Linked DNA regions of Homo sapiens: region 1 is linked to region 2. Evidence: promoter capture Hi-C in 16 types of primary human blood cells and fetal thymus (Javierre and others, 2016). All regions are on one chromosome and are shown on one strand. The core of a region is centred on a gene start or on the middle of the fragment in contact, and the rest is flanking DNA. Distances in the headings are between cores, read along the strand shown. Region 1 overlaps ECI2-DT (ECI2 divergent transcript). Region 2 holds the start of BPHL (biphenyl hydrolase like).

Region 1 (6,759 bases), core at 248-2,747, 1.0 Mb after region 2:
GCGTAGGCTGGAGTGCACTGGCACAATCTCGGCTCACTGCAACCTCCACCTCCTGGGTTCAAGTGATTCTCCTGTCTCGGGCTCCCGAGTAGCTGGGATTACAAGCATGCGCCACCAGGCCCGGCTAATTTTTTGTATTTAGTAGAGATGGGGTTTCACCTTGTTGGTCAGACTGGTCTCAAACTCCTGATTTCAGGTGATCCACCCGCTTCGGCCTCCCAGTGTTGGGATTACAGGTGTGAGCCACCACACCTGGCCTCTCCATATATTACAAAGTGGTAGTTGGTAGGCTGAGCTGCCTCTCTCAGAGACCTTGACTCTCTCCAAGGCTGTTAGATAACCTCAGAGGTAATGGAAATGCAGTAATCAGATATTGCAGATAATACAAGACTCATTCATTTCCAGAAGATGAAACAGCTGTCATGGAAATATTTTTTAAATCTCATACTGGTAAGCATATTTTGATAGTGAAACCTTTTGCAATGCAAGCAAACTACTCTCAGGCTTATACCTACCACAGAAAAGAGTGGGGTGTGGGAAATTAGCTTATCTTTTTCAAACTATAATTTTAAAAATATAGAAAGAGCATGTGTCAAAGATTTACTTAGCTCATTAATTAGGGAACCAACAGGGTGCTAAAGAAGAAGTTAAAAGACTAGTTTAATATAGTCAATGTTAAAAAAAGAATGCTGGAATAGATTGCAAAGTTAGAAACAAAACTGGTTAATATCCCATAGAGCAATAAAACCATAACCTCGGGAGGAATGTTTTTCCTATTGGAGAAATCATTTGCATATCTACCAGCTGTCATTTACTAAAGCCCCATTATATCCAGCATTTGAGAGAAAGGAGATGGTTAAAGAGACAGACATTCCTGGTTAAAGAGACAGACATTTAGATTCCTAGATCCTAAAGAGGGTCATCTTGGGTCCGTATTTGGTTTACTAAACTGTTAAGAGGTGTCCAGACCATGCCTTGTAAACATGGCTGCCATGGCCCTGTGGGTGGGAGGGCCAGTTGCAGCAAAAGGGAACCATTGTGATTTTGGTAGATTCTCCACCTGAGCTTGAAGATCATTGTATCTGTGCTAAGGAGTTTGGATTCCGTGCTGAGAGCAAGCAGAGAGCCATTGAAGATACAATTGGCATGCCCAGCTATCCAGTTCTCAGTGAAATCCTGGACTCCAGATATATCTTCAGGGTGTAATGGTTCTGGATAAGAGTAGGAAAGGCAGAAACTCAGTCAAGACCTCTCTAAAGCTCTAATCTTCACCCTGTTATATAACCAGCTTCCCCTGGAGCTTATGAAAATCTTGGGGAGGGGGTCCTCCAGTCTGGTTAGATCCTGTCTTATTGATTGCAGGGGACTGATGCTGCCTGGGAGGGCCGTTGATGTTCTTTGGGTTGAGAGAATCTCAGACTCTCTTAGCAGGTGCACAGGAAGTGTTGTCTCCGGCTATAATGAATCTTTGGGGTCAGCATATCGACTTCACAGTGTTGTGCTCAGTGGTAGTGTGAATGTTTCTTTTTTAAGATCATAGAATAGATTATATCAGAGTAGAATGTTACATGATGACTCTGTCAGTCATGATAATTTTTATTTCCAATATTTACATCATCAGATACTGTTGTTACAGCATGTACAGAGTCTGTCACATTCAGTCTTGAGGAACAATTCTGATACACTGTCCCAATTAACAGTGCAAGCTAGAAACCTGGAAGAGTCTTTGATTCCCTTACCTCACTGACACCTCACATCTATCATTCATCAAATACTAGTGATTCTGTCTCCTAAATATATTTTTTTAATTTTCCCCCTCATCTCACATCCCTCTGCATCGTCTTAATTCATGCTCTCATTGATTTTGAGATTACTGTTACCTGGATTCCTGTAGCAGCCACTTCCCAGTTTTGCTAATTCAGTTACCTCTGCAATCCATTCTCTCCCTGCTTCCAGGCTGGTCTCCCTAAATTTTAAATCTTACACTCCACACGATTCTCCCCGATCTCTCCCCTTGGCTGAAAATCTCTTAGTGAGTCCCCTTTGCCTGTTAAACAAACCCAAGCTGCTTAGCACTGGCAAATAAGGCCCACAAGATTTGCCCTTGCCTACCTTCTCAGGCACCTCTTTCCAGCCCCACATGTTAACTTCCCATTTCAGGTGAACTTGGGATGCTCAGTTTCTCTGAGTTTCCAGGTTCTCTCATTCCAGGCATTGGCATATCCAGGAATCTCCTCTGACCCACCCACTGGTTAGTCCTGTCCTGAGTTCCTACAGTCTCCTGGGCGTTTCTTTCTTCTGGCCCCTATGTCACTGTGTTTTATATCTGATTAGTAATCTATTTTATTACAAGGGGCATATCCTGGGAAGAATTCTACCCTGTATTCAACCCCTTTCTCATTTCTGGACACACTGCTTGACAGAAAATACTGTACTCTGTGAAGGTTTGTTGGATGATGGATGAGCTGTTGAAAGTTTCCTTCTAGAGCGTGCTTTTCCACATTTGATAATAAGTTGTGAGTCAGTTGCTACCTTTTCATTAAGTTGTCAGAAGGTGTTAACATGAGTGTTTTTGTGGTTTGAAATGTTGCTTTTTCAGTGAGTGGTAGCTAAAGGCAGAGGACTTTGACTGTTGCCAAGTTCCTGTGCCGAAATGAACTGGGGAGAGTGGTACGAAGGCAACTGTGGTGTTACTTAACTCTATAAATTTCTGGGTGAAAAATCTATTATAGCTTTTTCCATTAGTCATTAAAATGATTAGTCCACGTTCAACGTTCTGTATCATAATTGTTTCCTGCTTTAGCTGGATGACATTGCTTGAGATAAATTAAACCTGTGGCATTATTATGTCTCCTTTACAAAATTAATCCTCTTTTCTTCTTCCTAGCTAGGCTTTGTATTGCCTTCCTACACAATCTTATATGTCAGAGATATTAAAAATAGTATGCTGGAATATTACCTGCTTTGGGGTGTTTTTCTTATTTCCCATCGTTATAATTTAGAGAAGAAAGTCATTTCAAAAGTAAACATTTGGCTCATGTTATCACCTCTGTCTAAGTGCTTTACACCTGCGTGATTTGTTCATTCATCCAAGGCTCTTTTATCCACTCTTTCTGTATGTTGCACAAGCATTAACCTGACCTTGTATTTGAGGATACTTTTCAACTATCCTTCTGTAGCAAAAAAAAAAAAAAAAAATTATTTTTGGAGGACTCTCCCTCTGAAAATGATTGGAACTGATAGATACACTGTGTAAGAAATGGCTGCTTTTCTGAAGTCATTCCATTTTTTCTTGTTTACACCACAGCTTAAATTAATTTACCTGTCCTAATGAATACATAAGAACAAGAACAATACCTACAATTTAGTTAACCACAGAGAGCCACAAAGACAATTATATGTATTCAACACAATGTCATATAATTTACATGCATTTAAGGGCTGAGAAGAATGTTCAAGAATGGCATCCGTGGTTCGTAGGCAGGTGGTATCCTTATTGACTCAGCAAAGGTGCTCCTGCCTTCTCTGTTCTGCACAAGAAAGAAGTAAATTTAAAATTCCATCCATAAATCAGCAGCTTGACTTTAAATAAGATTAGAAAAACATAGTCAATCCTTATTTTTCGTAGTTTGTGTATTTGAGAGTTTGCCTACTTGCTAAAATTTATTTGTAAACTTTATTTTTATTTATTTATTTATTTATTTATTTTTTTGAGATGGAGTCTTGCTCTCTCTCCCAGGCTGGAGTGCGGTGGCATGATCTCAGCTCACTGTAGCCTCCACCTCCTGGGTTCAAGTGATTCTCTAGCTTCAGGGTTCAAGTGATTCTCTAGCCTCAGCCTCCAGAGTAGTTGACACTACAGGCATGCACCACCATGCCTGTCTAATTTTTTTGCATTTTTAGTAAAGACAGGGTTTCACCATGTTGGCCAGGCTGGTCTTGAATTCCTGACGTCAGGTGATCCACCTGCCTTGGCCTCCCAAAGTGCTGAAATTACAGGTGTGAGCCACTGCACCCGGCCTATTTGTAAACTTTAAATCAATACTCATGGGGCATTTGCAACATGTCTGGAGTGTTGGAAAATTTGATTTGCCCGAAGCACATATTCACAGCTGAGGTCAAACAAGGTGACCTTCTGCCTTCTTATTTCAACTGTCATACTGTAAATAAATGTCCTTATGGGGTTTACTTAATGCTACATATTTTCATATTTTTGTGCTTTTTTTGGTGATTTGCTGTTTAAAATGGCCTGCAAGCATAATGCTGAATTGCTATCTAGTGTAAAAGCAATAAGGCTGTGATGTGCCTCATGGAGAAAATGTGAGCTAGACTTCCTTCAGGCCTGAGTTTATAATGCTGTTAGCAAATTCAGTATTATTGAATCAACTATATACATATATATGTACTTTAAATGATGTGTCTTTCCATAGAAACACATCGGATAAGCTTATGATGAAAATGTAACCAGAGACTCAAAGGAACCTAATCCTGGATTACCTCTAGAAACAATGGTTCACTATTGACTTATTCAGTGTTTGCTATGACTTTAGAAAATCTAATTATCATGAATAATGAGAATTAACTGTATATGCAGCTGTCTTAGGTTAGAGTCTCCCAGAAGCAGACCCCAAGAGAGGAGTTTATTTGGGGAATGATTCCAGGAAACCTTGGTGTAGGAGTAGAGAATTAAAAGAGACAAGGAAAGGCAGGCAATAAAGGGTAAAATCATTAAGCAAGTTACCTCTGTGGACAACTGACACTCAATTCTACTATAGTAGCCTGGGTGCCAGTGAAGAGCATGTGCCTCAGGTGTCCTTCCTGAAGGGAGAGAAAGGTAAGATATTTCTAAGTATTTGGGGATTTTTTTTTTTTTTTTTTTTTTTAATGAGACAGAATCTCACACTGGCCCCAGGCTGGAGTGCAGTGGTGCGATCTCAGCTCACCACAGCCTCCTCCTCCTGGGTTCAAGGCATTCTCCTACCTCAGCCTCCCAAGTAGCTGGGACTACAGGCGCCCACCACCATGCCTAGCTAATTTTTTGTATTTTTAGTAGAGACAGGGTTTCACTGTGTTAGCCAGGCTGGTCTCAAACTCCTAATCTCATGATCCTCCCACCTTGGCCTCCCAAAGTGCTGGGATTACAGGCATGAGCCACTGTGTCCCGCTGTATTTGGGGATTTTTCGTGATCTTTCTCTTATCTCTAGTTTAATTCCACTGTACTCCAAGAACATTCTTTGTATGAATTCAATTCTTTTACATTTGTTAGTTTTATATCCAGTAGTATGTGGCCTATCGCGGTGAACATTCCATGTGTTGTCAAAAGAATATGCATCCTATCATTCATTGTCACTTACTGACTTTGTGTCTCCTTGTTCCATAAATTACTGAGAGAGGAATGTTGATGTCGCCATATGTAATTGTAAATGTGACTATTTCTCTATTCAGTTCAATCAGTTTTTGCTTCATGCATTTTGGAGTTCTGTTGTTAGGTGGATACAAACTGATGACTGTATGTCTTCTTGATGAATTGACCTTTATTATTTTGTACTGTCCCTTTTTATCCCTGGTAAGTAATTTTCCTTTATATGAAGTCTATTTTTTATATTAATGTAGACAACACAGCTTTCTTTTGATTAGTGTTTGCATGGTTTATCTGTTTTTATTCTTTGACTTTTAATATATGTGTATCATTATATTTAAAGTGGGTTTCTTGTAGACAACATATAGTTGTTTGTTTTTTTAAAAATCCAATCTGACAATCTTTGTTTTTTAAATGATATATTTAGACCATTTACATTTGATGTGATTATTGATATAATTAGATGTAGACCTCCTATTTTGTTATTTTTCTGTTTGTTTTTGCTTTTCTCTTCTCCCTCCTTACCATCTTCGAATTATTTTTAGTATTCCATTTTAACTTATCCATTAGGATGATTTGTTTGTTTGTTTGTTTGTTTTGTTTTGGCTTTATGTCTGTATTAGTCCATTCTCACACTGCTATAAAGAACTACCTGAACTGTAATCCCAGCACTGTGGGAGGCTGAGGCAGGTGGATCGCTTGAGCTCAGGAGTTTGAGACCAGCCTGGGCAATGTGGTGAAATCCCATCTCTACAAAAAATACAAAAAAATTAGCTAGACTTGGTGGCACATGCCTGTACTCCCAGCTACTCAGGATACTGAGGTGGAGGATTGCTTGGGCCCAGAAGGCAGAGGTTGAGCTGAGATTGTGGCACTGCATTCCAGCCTGGGAGACAGAGCAAGACTCTGTAAAACAAAACAAAACAAAACAACAACAAAAACCCCAAACCAACAATCTACCTGGGACTGGGGAATTTATAAAGAAAAGAGGTTTACTTGACTCATGGTTCTGCAGGTTGTAGAGGAAACATGGCTGGGTAGGCCTCGGGAAACTTACAGTTATGGCAGAAGGTTAAGGAGAAGTTGGCACATCTTCACATGGCAGAACAGGAGAGAGAGAATGAAGGGGGAAGCACTACACACTTTTAAACAACCAGATCTCATAAGAACTAATTCACTATCACAAGAACAGCAAGGTAAACATCTGCCCCCGTGATCCAATCACCTGCCACTAGGCCCCATCTTCAACACATGGGTATTACAGTTCAACATGAGATTTGGGTGGGGACACAGAGCCAAACCATATCAATCTCTTTATATATTTTTCCAGTGGTTGTTCCAAAGAATATATGTATATAATATTATGATAGTATATATATACACACATATACATGTATAT
Region 2 (5,935 bases), core at 2,286-4,785:
TTTATACCACAACTTTAGGCTATTGATGTGATGTGTCACTGGGACAGATGCGGATTCTCCATGGTGCCTCTGCCACTGAGGCCGCATTTCCTGAGCATAATCCCCTTTTACCCTCCCGCTGCCAAGCAGGAGACGGGATGCTGATGGTAAGAACACCTCCCTGCCAGTGCATTTTGGCGCTCAGGATGAGAGGCCTGCAGCACTGCTGTCCCCGCGCCTGGCTCTGGGGCCTTCCCTTCACCCCCACTCTCTCAGCACCATGGTGAGAAGAACCAAGTTTGCCTGTGAGGAGTTAGGTACAAGGCCCAAGCTCCACAAGAACACTGCTGTTAATGGGCAGAGCCAATGACGACACAGACCAGCAAAGCAGAACCGAGACTGTCCGCACTTGGTTCGGAAACAAATACTCACACCCTAGGTTATTGCTGGTAACGGAGACCTCCTTCCAGCTCCCACAGTCCTGCTTGGTAGATTTTCTACTTGTTGCTACAATCATCATCTTTGCTTTGGGTCTGTCACGTGAGGTTAGGGTTTCAGGAATAAAATGTTTAATAAATCACAAAATATTTTAGGCAGTATTTTGATGTACATTTTAATGTGTGGTATTTATGAAAGGGAAAGGGTTTTCTAATTATAATAAAGGCATAAATAGTGTAAATATTCAAGATTTTAGAAGCAGCTGATTTCAGAGAAATCACTGAAAGGTTAATGCTACTACAGTGATTTTTACAATATGCAATAATCCAAGTATACGACCAGGTATAGTGGCTCATGCCTGTAATCCCAGCACTTTGGGAGGCCAAGCTGGGAGGATCGCTTGAGGCCATGAGTTCGAGACCAGTGTGGACAACACAGCAAGACCCTATCTCCACAAAAACATTAAAAAATATTAGCCAGGTGTGGTGGTGTATGCCTGTAGTCCTAGCTTCTTGGCAGGCTAAGGTGGGAGGATCACTTGAGCCCAGGAGTTTGAGGCTGTGGGGAGCTGTGATCACACCGTGCCTCAATAATAATAGCAATCATCATCATCATCATCAAGTATAGAGTCCTGAAATTGAGAGCTCAAAACTCCCCCCTGCCCCTTCTCAGCTGTGTTACCCAGGCCTTGCTTCCTAACCTTTCGCCGTCATTATGCAAGTATAGAGTCCTGAAATTGAGCAGCTCAAAATTACTTTTCAGCTGTGTTACCTAGGGCTTGCTTCCTAACCTTTCTTAGCCTCAGTTGCCTCATCTATAAATGGAGAGTGCAATAGCACAGAAGGCTAATGTGAAGATTAAAGAAATATGATATATCATAAGGTGCCTGGCACAAAAATGGCAGTTTTTTTAAACTGTACGATCTTGCTATATATAAAGAACTGGTTGTCAGGTATGTTACTTAAAAATAGTGACACCACGCTGGACGCGGTGGCACACACCTGTAATCCTAGCACTTTAGGAGGCTGAGGCGGGTGGATCACCTGAGGTCAGGAGTTTGAGACCAGCCTGGCCAACATGGCAAAACCTCGTCTCTACTAAAATTACAAAAATTAGCCGGGCATGGTGGCGGGTGCTTGTAATCTCAGCTACTCAGGAGGCTGAGGCAGGAGAATTGCTTGAACCTGCGAGGCAGAGGTTACAGTGAGCTGAGATTGCGCCATTGCACTCCAGCCTGGGCAACAAGACCAAAACTCCGTCTCAAAAAAAAAAAATTGTGACACCAATAACCTAAAACTCAGTGCTACCGTTTTTTATTAGCACAAGGGTAACTGGTGTTGAAACTGTACAGACAGCTATTTTTATCATTTCTGAGATGAAACCCCAATCAACATATCAGGAAAAAAGGAAATACTGACCTCACCAAAGATTTCTGAAAGTCAAACGATATTAAACTCAAACATTATATATGTCTCTTTCCTTTTATGCAGGAATTAATGTGATAGATTTATGTTGAGAGTAGAATATGAAAACTTTTGCATAGTCTGTATTTAGGCCAAAACTGCCTTTACTACTCAAGAAAGTCCAATGGGCCAGTGAGGACACTGCAGGTGACAGAAATTTCTATGAGTGTAACACCTACAAGCACTGTGCTCACAGGACTGACTGTTACACCAAAAAGGTCTCTTGGAGGAGAAGAAATGCAATATGCAAAGAAGCTGTTGTCTCCAATTATTCAAGCCAAGGCTACAACAGTAGCCACAAATCTGCCAGTTATTTCCAATTAAGGCAGAACGATTGACTTAAAAAGCAATAGTTGTTTTTTTTCTCCACTGAGCTTTCAATTAGATAATGTCTATAACCTTTATAAAGCTGCAATTATACAGCCAAAAGAAAAAAAATTAATTGTGGTAAAACATACATAAAACTTACCACTTAAACCACTTTTAGGTGTGTAGTTCAGTGGCAGTAAGTACACTCACAATGTAATGCAGGCATCACCAAAATCCATCCCCAGGACTTTTTCATCTCTCCAAACTGAAACTCTGTCCCCATGAAACACCAACTTTCCATTCCCCCTTCCACCAGCCCTCAACAACCCCCATTCTATTTTCTGTCCCTATAAGTTTGACTCCTCTAGGTACCTTATTATATAAGTGGAATCACACAGTATTTGTCTTTTTTTGACTGGCTTACCTCCCTCAGCATAGTGTCCTCCAGGTTCATCCATGTAGTAGCAAGTGTCAGAATTTCGTTCTTTGTTCAGGCTAAAAAATGTTCCCTTGCATGCACAGACAACATTTTGCTTATCCATGTATCTGTTTTTGGACACTTAAATTGCCTCCACCCTTTTGGCTATTGTGAATAGTGCCGCTGTCAACGTGAGTGTAAAAACATTTCTTCTTGTACACCCTGTTTTAAATTCTTTTGGGTTATATACCCAGAAAAGAAAATGCTGGATCATATAACTGATTTGTTGAGGAACCGCAGTATTGTTCATCACATGGCTGCACCATTTTACATTCCCAACAGCAATATACAAGGGCTTCAATTTCTCTACATCTTCACCAACACTAATTTCTGGGGGTTTTGCTAGTAGCCATCCTAATGGGCGTGAAGTGGTATAAACAAAATTTAGATCCCATCATCTCCGAAAAGCAAATACACTTCCTAGTACTAGTCAGTACTAAATAGGTGCACAGCGTTTAGAACTTTACTTGATCCAACATAGCAGCCTGCCTAGAGCCGGAGCCCCGCCCACTCCGGAGTCCCGCCTGGACGCCGACGCAGCGAGGGCGCTATGGCTGGCGGCCTCGCCTCCTGGAAAGGCCATGGTCGCTGAGGCGACGAGCGAGGGCGGGGCAGCGCCGACGGGGACACTCATCCCGGGAGCCAGAGCCAGCACCGAGAGGGGACGGTCTACGCGGGTGCCGGCGGTTCCAGGACTGCGAAACCACGAGCCGAGTTTCGGTCGCCCATGGGAAAGCACCCGGCAGGGCGTGGCTTCGGGGCGGGGCGGGCAGAGGGCGGAGCAGGATGGAGAGGCGAGGTGGGCGGAGCAGAGGGCGTGGCTTCGGGGCAGAGTGGGCCGGGTACCGCGCTTGGTCTTAGCGCATGCGCACTCCCGGCAGCTACGCGACCTGTGACCATGGTGGCTGTGCTGGGCGGCCGGGGCGTGTTGCGCCTGCGGCTGCTTCTCTCAGCGCTGAAGCCCGGGATCCACGTCCCACGGGCCGGACCCGCGGCCGCGTTCGGGTAATGGCGGCCACCTCGCCCCGGGGATCCCCAGCATCGGCGCGCTCGAGGGGCGGCGGGAGGGGCGCGTGCCGACAGCAGGAGTTCCCGGCGCGCGGGCACGGGGCGTGGGCGCGGCCTGGCTGCCCTGTCGCCCTTTGTGCCGCGAGACCCCGATCCTGGGGGCCAGCCGCGCTTGGTGCTCGAGCCCCTCGATCGTGCATGCGCCTCGGTCAGCCTCAGTTCAAGGAGTCTGGAGCCGTGGAGGCTTGGGCTATAGAGTGCAGCCCCTTCAGTGTGCAGACCAGAGAGACCCAGGGAGATACATTTGCCTGTAGTATGGACTCACCCGTGACGGAGCACGGACTAGAATCCCAACGCCCTCATTAGTCCATTGCTCTGTCCAGAGTCCACACTAAGGGCATAAGGACAATAATCTCTTCTTTCTCTTATGTCAGAAATCAGCCTGAGCCTGAGTACCGCTAAGGCTTTAATCACGGGTCCCGAGAGCCCTAAGTCTTCTCTTTGCTTGCTGATCTCGTACCTTAATGTGCAAAAGAATCACGTTGGGAACTGAAAATTCAGAATCCTGGGCCTCACTCCCAGAGGATCTGATCTACATGTGTGGAGATGCCCAGGAATCTGCTTTATTCTCTTTTGTCCTCCCACCTGTCCCCCCATTTCAGGTAAAACAATAACAAAAAAACTGGATTAATTTCTGACCTTCTGTCTTGAAAATGGATACTCTTGGTCCCAAGAGATACTGGGCAGAAATGTGGATAGAGCGGCATGAAGCTTGTTTTACTTTATTCTCTACATACATCCCTACACACATGCAAACACACGTATACAACGAACGTACACAGTGCATGTGCGCAGTTGACTGTTGATGGGCTACTTTCATAAAGTCAGTACTAGATAGGTACACAGCGTTTAGAACTGTACTTGATCCAACATAGAAACTTTTAGTTTGAAAACTTGATTTAGAAGGAGAAAAGAGGGCAAATCTGACCAGCTTTTAAAATTTCATATTGCAATTGACTAGCTCCTTTAATTTTAGAATTATTATAAGATGGTCAGGGCTATTTTGATAGATGGAAAAACATGTTAATGGCTACAGCTGTATAAATTAACAGTGAAAATGATTATTTTTTCCAGTTTCCTGTCTGCAGAAAGGCATCGAAATAAGTTACTGTGATTGTACCAATATAGTTCTTTTTTTTTTTGAGACTGACTCTCGCTCTTTTGCCCATGCTGGAGTGCAGTGTTGTGATCTCGCTCACTGCAACCTCTGCCTCCCAGGTTTAAGCGATTCTCGTGGCCTCAGCCTCCCGAGTAGCTGGGATTACAGGTACCTGCCACCATGCCCGGCTAATTTTTGTGTTTTTAGTAGAGATGGGGTTTCACCATGTTGGCCAAGCTGATCTCGAACTCTTGACCTCAAATGATCCACCTGCCTCAGCCTCCCAAAGTGCTGGGATTACAGGCGTGAGCCACCGCTCTCGGCCTACCAGTATAGTTCTGATAGGTTATTTAATGGTTGAGGAAGGCCCCATCCATCTAGTTGCATTGCAGATCATTCTTCCTAAAATATCTCTGAAGAAACAGGTTTTTCTGGATTTTGTACGGCCGTTTTATAAATGCAGCTGCAAGTTGATATGACATATAATCTGGGAAAACAAGCAGTGGTATTAGTTAATCCTGAAATGCAGCTGTAGCTCAGTGTCAGTAGGTAAAAGGATTCGTGTAAAAACTTTGCTTCAGAATAGCCAGTGCCCAACCTACAACTGACTTTTGTTCCAAAAACTTGTTTGTAAGTCTGCTGTTTGGAACTTTGACCCTTATTTCAAAATCCGTAAGGTGATTTATTCCTGGGTCAGGTCAAGAAAAGCCTTTTCTACCTGAAATTGGATATTATGTGCAGTTATAAATATTAATAATTCACATAACCTAACAATCTTCCTAAAAAATATTTTCCAAGTTCAACCTTGGGATGCCCTGCCAGAGAATCAGAGACTGTCCTTCTGCTGACGCTTGCCACCACGCTGTATCTGGCAGTCAGAGTGTGGCCCCGGTGCCTGAGCCCTCTTAGGACTCTGTTCAGCCATGAGGTTAGAGAGGAATCATGGCCTCTGGAGTTCTAATGGCCCCGTGGCCACTTCCTAGCTCTGTGAGTGTGGGCAGATTGTTCAACCTCTCTGAGCCTCCTGCCTTGCAGCGTTTTTGTGAGGATTTGAAACAATAAATGTAAAAGCCTGGGGATATAATAAACATGAAGTAATTA

What was found. Contacts are between HindIII fragments. The CHiCAGO score rates a contact against its expected background, and 5 or more counts as called.
Region 1: a fragment that was not itself captured here is called in contact with the fragment with the promoter of BPHL in region 2 in 3 of 17 cell types (non-activated CD4 T cells, fetal thymus and activated CD4 T cells); the score reaches 7.5 in non-activated CD4 T cells.

The regions. Positions count from the first base shown.
Region 1 is chr6:4,136,953-4,143,711 of GRCh38, forward strand. It overlaps ECI2-DT (ECI2 divergent transcript), which reads left to right. Exons shown (of 4, transcript NR_103764.1): 2 at 409-450. It overlaps LOC107986559 (a long non-coding RNA gene), which reads right to left and starts at 4,850. Exons shown (of 2, transcript XR_001743933.2): 1 at 4,742-4,850; 2 at 3,382-3,530. LOC124901246 (a long non-coding RNA gene) reads left to right here and starts at 6,758. Exons shown (of 5, transcript XR_007059416.1): 1 at 6,758-6,759. The HindIII fragment of the contact is 5,893 bases long and covers 1-4,444 here.
Region 2 is chr6:3,115,176-3,121,110 of GRCh38, forward strand. It overlaps BPHL (biphenyl hydrolase like), which reads left to right and starts at 3,536. Exons shown (of 7, transcript NM_004332.4): 1 at 3,536-3,672. The coding sequence starts at 3,566. LOC107986556 (a long non-coding RNA gene) reads right to left here and starts at 3,472. Exons shown (of 4, transcript XR_001743928.3): 1 at 2,614-3,472. RIPK1 (receptor interacting serine/threonine kinase 1) reads left to right here. Exons shown (of 11, transcript NM_001354930.2): 11 at 1-12. RefSeq lists an enhancer at 2,770-3,405 and a silencer at 3,444-3,833. The HindIII fragment of the contact is 8,418 bases long and covers 1-4,444 here.